Linked DNA regions of Homo sapiens: region 1 is linked to region 2. The links are contacts of gene promoters, found by promoter capture Hi-C in human tissues and cell types (Jung and others, 2019). All regions are on one chromosome and are shown on one strand. The core of a region is centred on a gene start or on the middle of the fragment in contact, and the rest is flanking DNA. Distances in the headings are between cores, read along the strand shown. Region 1 overlaps TAF2 (TATA-box binding protein associated factor 2). Region 2 holds the start of TAF2 (TATA-box binding protein associated factor 2).

Region 1 (3,220 bases), core at 411-2,910, 61 kb before region 2:
CAACTGGGAGATAATGATACAAGACAAACCTCACAAAAGCATATAGTGGCCAGACCACCCAAGGCCAACATAAAAGAACAAATCTTAAAAGCAGCTAGAAAGAAGTGTCAAATCACCTATAAAGGAAATCCCATCAGACTTCTCAGCAGAAACCTTACAAGCAGGAAGAGATTGGGGGTCTATTTTTCATCTCTTTAAAGACAAAAATTGCCAGCCAAGAATTTTATATCCTGCCAAACCAAGCTTCATAAATGAAGGAAAAATAAAGTATTTCCCAGACAAGCAAATCAAGGGGAATTCATCACCACTAGAACAGACCTATAATAAATGCTCAAAGGAGTTCTAAATATAGAAATGAAAGGATGACACTCACCAACATAAAAGCACATGCAAGCAGAAAGCTCACAGATCCTATAATTACACAATTAAGGCCCCAAGGCAACTACCCACAACACTATGACAGGAAGAAAACCTCACATTTCAATATTAACCTTGAACAGAAATGGCATAAATGCTCCACTTAAAATATATAGAGTGGCCAGGTGCAGTGGCTCACGCCTGTAATCCTACCACTTTGGGAGACTGAGGGCGGACTGCCTGAACTCAGGAGTTCGAGACTAGCCTGGGCAACATGGTGAAAACCTGTCTCTACTAAAATACAAAAAATTAGCTGGGCCTGGTGGCATGCACCTGTAGTCCCAGCTACACAGGAGGCTGAGGCAGAAGAACTGCTTGAACCTGGGAGGTGGAGGTTGCAGTGAGCTGAGATCACGCCACTGCACTCCAGCCTGGGCGACAGAGCGAGACTCCGTCTCTTAAAAAAAAAGATATAGAATGGCATGTTGGATAAAAAACAAGACACTACCATCTATTGCCTAGAAGAGACCCCCTCAATGACAAAAGACACCTACAGACTCAAAGTAAAGGGATGGAAAAAGATATACTACGCAAATGAAAAATAAAAGCAAGCAGGAGTAGCCATTCTTTTTTACTTTTTTGAGACAGGTTCTCGCTCTGTTGCCCAGGATGGAGTGCTGTGGTGCAACCTCGGCTCACTGCAACCTCCCCGTCCTAGGTTCAAGTGACTCTCCTGCCTCAGCCTCCTGAGTAGCTGGGATTACAAGCATGTGCGACCACACCTGGCTAATTTTTGTATTTTCAGTAGAGACGAGGTTTCACCATGTTGGCCAGGCTGATCTTGTACTCCTGACTTCAAGCAATCTGCCCTCCTCGACCTCCGAAAGTGCTGGGATTACAGGAATAAGCCACTGTGCCCGGCCACGAGTAGCCATTCTTACATCAGATAAAATAGACTTTAAACTGACAATAGTAAAGAAAGAAAGAAGCAAAATGAAAGGCATTATATACTGACGAAGTTTAAAACAAAACCAAGAATTAATTTTATACACACCCAACACTGGAGCACCCAGATTCATAAAACAACACCTACACCTAAGAAGAGATTGACAGCAATGCAATAATAGTGGTGGACTTCAACACCCCACTGAAAACACTAGATAGGTCATTGAGGCAGAAAGTCAACAAAGAAACTCTGGACTTAAACTAGAATCTAGACCAAATGGACCTAACAGACATTTACAGATCATTCTACCCACAACTGCAGAATATACGTTTTTCTCATCTGAACATGGAACATTCCCCCAAACTGACCACATGCTTGGCTAAAATGCAAAATCTCAATAAATTAAAAAAAATCAAAAATATCAAGTATCTTCTCAGACCACAGTGGAATAAAATTACAAATCAATATCAAGAGGAACTCTCAAAACTACATGAGCAAATGGAAACTGAACAACTTGATCCTGAATGACTTTTGGCTAAGCAATAAAATCAAGACAAATAAAAAAAAGAATGAAAATAGAGATACAACATACCAAAACCTCTTGGATACAGCAAAAGCAATGCTAAGAGTAAAGTTTATTGCATTGCATGCCTACATCAAAAAGAGAGATCTCAAATTAACAACCTACTTTGGATTGAACAAAGAAAATGTAGTCACAAAAAAGAACAAAATAGTCTTGTGCAGCAACATGACTGCAGTTGGAAGCCATTATCCTAAGTGAAATAACTTAGAAACAGACAAATACCATATCCTCTCACTTGTAAGTGGGAACTAAACAATGGGAACACATGGACATAAAGAAGGAAATAATAGAAACTGGGAATTCCAAAAGAGCGGAGGCTAGGAGGGAAGCGAGGGTTGAAAAATTACCTATTGGGTACAACGGTTACTACTCGGGTAATGGGTACACTAGAAGTCCAAACCCAACTGTTAGGTAACATATCAATGTAAAAACCCGCAGACCTACCCACCCCTTGAATCTAAAATAAATTTTTAAAAGATACACAATATAAAATAATAATATTAATTAAAATAAGGCCGGGTGTGGTGGCTCACGCTTGTAATCCCAGCACTTTGGGAGGCCAAGGTGGGCAGATCACCTGAGGTCAGGAGTTCGAGACCAGCCTGGCCAACATGGTGAAACCCCGTCTCTACTAAAAATACAAAAATTAGCTGGGCGTGGTGGCAGACACCTATAATCCCAATTACTCAGGAGGCTGAGGCAGGAGAATCACTTGAACCCAGGAGGTGGAGGTTGCAGTGAGCCGAGATCATGCCACTGCACTCCAGTCTGGTTAACAAGAGACAGACTCCATCTCAAATAATAATAATAATAATAATAACAATAATAATATTACTTAAAATAAGAAAATGCAGGAAAAGCACTTATGGTACCAAGAATGTACTAAGCACTCAATAAGTGAACATCAGAATCAACATCATCATTATTGAAAAAGCAAGCTTGGATTTTCTCAAAAAAAAAAAAAACCTATGGTTACCTTTCTTTAAAATTTTCCTTTTTTAAAAAGATAGGAGAAGAAATAATAGCAAAATTTAGCTACAAAATTAAACAGCACAATTACCTAATAAGTAGATTATTCTTTTCCAAATAGCATTGTGCTAAAGCTATTCTTATAATACACTACCATTTCTATTTATGTAAAAAAAAATACAAAGAAGTCTTAAGAGCTCAGTTTGCTGATAAGTTCCAAGTTAAAAGTTGATATACTTTCCATAACTTTCTAAATTCTAAATCAATCCCTCATTTCTTCAAGGCTACAATTATTTTCCCAACCCTTTCTCCCCATTCTTACTCCCCACCATCCTCTCTCAGATTTCTTAGACTTACAGAGGGTT
Region 2 (3,247 bases), core at 247-2,746:
TCATAGAAGAAATGTCGCTATGGGCTTATACTTGTTTCATGCACAATTATAAAATGCTTGGCTATACAGGCTTTCATATTATACACCAGATAAAGAGGAATAAAATTTTAATTAGGAAATTGAAAAAAAAGGAAAGGGAGAATTTGGGAGGCAATAGGTATTAATAGAAGGACCATGGAACTTGTAATCATACAGACCCTAATTTTAATTCTTACCTATTCTTGAAACACAATTATCTGGAAGACTACAAACTTTCTAAGTACTGTGAGGGGTGGATTGTTACTCTTTATAGTGGACTTGTTACTATTTATAATTGTTGAGAATAAACTTACCACAACAGATTTTCTCTGGAAATTTATGTTGTTGATGCAGACGACCTGATGGGTTGTATATTAATAAATATAAAAAGAAAATAAGGAAAAAATAATTTTTATTATTAAATCAAAGTATAATTCTATCCAAGTATAAATTAGGACTATGTTCTAAGTAATTCAAAATTACATGTCAATATTTCATTTTAAAACTACGAATTGGGGCCTGGTGCGGTGGCTCACGCCTGTAATCCCAGCACTTTGGGAGGCCACGGCAAGCGGATCACGAGGTCAAGAGTTCGAGACCAGCCTGGCCAACAGAGTGAAACCGAGTCTCTACTAAAAATACAAAAGTTAGCCGGGCATCGTGGCACACGCCTGTAATCCCGGCTACTCAGGAGGCTGAGCCAGGAGAAAAGCTTGAACCCGGCAGGTGGAGGCTGCAGTGAGCCGAGATCGCGCCGTTGCACTCCAGCCTGGGCGACTGAGAGACTCCGTCTTAAAAATTAAAAAATTAAAAAAAAAAAAACACTCTACCAATTGGGATAATTTTTTAAAATCTAGCAACAGTCACGAAAACAGATTTGACAGAAATACAATCTAGTACTTAGACAAAAACTTTAGTAACTTGCAACGGGAATTAAATTTGCTGAATAACCTGTCATTCAAAACATTTTTACCTTACAAACACCATTTCCATCACAGTGAGTAAATTCTAGTTTCCCACTAGGTTTCCCAGGCCCACCAAGTCAATTTCAAGCAATCGCAAAATATAATTAATGGCAACAAAACCAAAAGGAAGGAAGGGAAATGAAAAAATACTTATAATTTATATGGCCTTGGGCTTTCAAAGCCCTTGTCTCCTTTCTTCCTGTTCATTCTGGCGGGCTCTACACCAGTCAGCGGCATGAAGCGGTCCCGCGGAGCTTGGCTTCCCGGCTTCCTAGGGGGATACGGGGCATTACTAGTCTTTGGCACCTCACACTCTCCACTCCCCTGCGGTCCCCAAGTCACGTCTCGCAGCTGGCCGGTGCCCAGGTGAGCGACCTGACGGGTCGCTGCCCGCCTCAACCTCGCTCCTTCGACTAGCTCCTAGAAGCCGCCGTCGACAAGCTTCTGTCACAGAGATGCTCCTCTCCGCAAGGGCTCGAAGCTACCATCCGCCGACATCTTGTCTGTAACCTCTGACCTCCGACGTCAGCGGAAGTGGAACGGCGGCGGGGGTAGAACCAGGAAGTCTTGTCAATGGGCAGGGCTTGCGATCTTCGCATGTGTCTTATCGTAAAGAATTGTTAAAATTTAGGATAGGGAAAAAACTATTTAATGGATGAAGCGAGAACAGCAGGAAGAAAAGGAGGGAAGGTAGTTTTCTAGTACAAGCATATTGAGAAGAATGGAGGACAAAGTTTGCGAAGAGCCAGGTATAAATAGGCTGGGGCAGGGTGCTAGTAACTGGGCGGGGTGGGGTGGTGGGAAGTCTCCCGAAATCAGGAGGTGCGTGCCTCTGGCTTGCTGTGTGAACAGACACACTGGGTCCGGTGATTTAAGCTGTAAAATATGTGATTAGACTGCAGGTAGTCTAAATGTCAAAACTGCAGCACTCCACAGCTCTCACTAGGCACTGCTGCCTTAGTATTTATTTTAAAATATAGATTACAAGGCCGGGCGCAGTGGCTCACTCCTGTAATCCCAACACTTTGGGAGGCCGAGGCGGGCCGATCATTTGAGGTCAGGAGTTCGAGACCAGCCTGACCAACATGGTGAAACCCCGTCTCTACTAAAAATTACACAAAATTAGCTGGGCGTGGTGGTGCACGCCTGTAATCCCAGCTACTTGGGAGGCTGGGGCAGGAGAATTGCTTGAACCTGGGAGACGGAAGTTGCAGCGAGCTGAGATCGTTCCACTGCACTCCAGCCTGGGCGACAGAGCTGAGACTGTCTCAGAAAAAAAAAAAAAGAATAAAATATAGACTACAGGCCAGGCGTGGTGGCTCACGCCTGTAATCCTAGCACTTAGGGAAACTGAGGCAGTCATATCACTTGAGGTCAGCAGTTCAAGACCAGCCTGGCCAACATGGTGAAAGCCCGTCTCTAGTAAAAATACAAAAATTAGCCCTGCGTCGTGGCGTGCGCCTGTATTCCCAGCCACTCGGGAGGGTGAGGCACCAGAATCACCTGAACTCGGGAAGCCGAGTTTGCAGTGAGCTGAGATCATGCCATTGCACTCCAGTCTGGGAGACAAAGCGAGACTCCCTCTCAAAATAAATAAATAGACTACATAGAGATATATAGACTGTGTATATATATCATATAATCCATATAAATGCAGAAACATTTATTGAAAGACATTTCGAAGCCATCGTGTTTGTATTTCATGTTCATGACAATAAAACTTGTAAACTTCAGTAACAGTTAAACCTTCTTTAATTATGGATTAGCCATTAACATTTTTGAAACGTGGACCATTTAACCTCGGCCTACCCCCTCCAACTGTCCTGGTGATGAGTTCATTAGCTAAGTTAAAATTAATTTGAACTTTGATCTAAACCAAAACAAATCAGGAAAATAAAGCTGTAAAGGAACTTTATCAAGCATTCCAAAACCAACTAGAAATTACTTGAAGTTTTCGAGTGAGCATTGCCTGTGCCAGTATTCTTCATTATAGGATTATAAACTCGTTTTTTTCCCAAAGCGCATGTCTACGCCAGGCAGAGGAGTAATTATTCAGCCAATTTCATGGATGTAAACGATGGATATAAATAATTGATAGCACCTAGAGGCTTCCAGTTTGGGTGGAAGGCTAAAAGTAGAGGGGAACTCACTCACTTGAGAAATGATATTTAAGTGAATAAATAGTTCTCTTCTATGAAACTATTACTATTTAGTTCTCTGGAAAACTTAAGTGTATTAATGATTAGAACATCAAATCCTAAGTA

The links. Contacts are between HindIII fragments. The study calls those that stand out against the background at their distance.
Region 1: a fragment that was not itself captured here is called in contact with the fragment with the promoter of TAF2 in region 2 in 1 of the 25 tissues and cell types used here (mesendoderm cells).

The regions. Positions count from the first base shown.
Region 1 is chr8:119,770,256-119,773,475 of GRCh38, forward strand. The region is part of intron 18 of TAF2 (TATA-box binding protein associated factor 2); the gene reads right to left. Among named protein-coding and RNA genes, the nearest start is that of TAF2, 61 kb to the right of the region's middle. The HindIII fragment of the contact is 3,653 bases long and covers 1-3,220 here.
Region 2 is chr8:119,831,345-119,834,591 of GRCh38, forward strand. TAF2 (TATA-box binding protein associated factor 2) reads right to left here and starts at 1,497. Exons shown (of 26, transcript NM_003184.4): 1 at 1,138-1,497; 2 at 333-387. The coding sequence starts at 1,220. It overlaps DSCC1 (DNA replication and sister chromatid cohesion 1), which reads right to left. Exons shown (of 9, transcript NM_024094.3): 9 at 2,632-3,247. It overlaps LOC105375728 (a long non-coding RNA gene), which reads left to right and starts at 1,535. Exons shown (of 4, transcript XR_928590.3): 1 at 1,535-1,732. RefSeq lists enhancers at 1,149-1,198, 1,259-1,618. The HindIII fragment of the contact is 6,114 bases long and covers 1,078-3,247 here.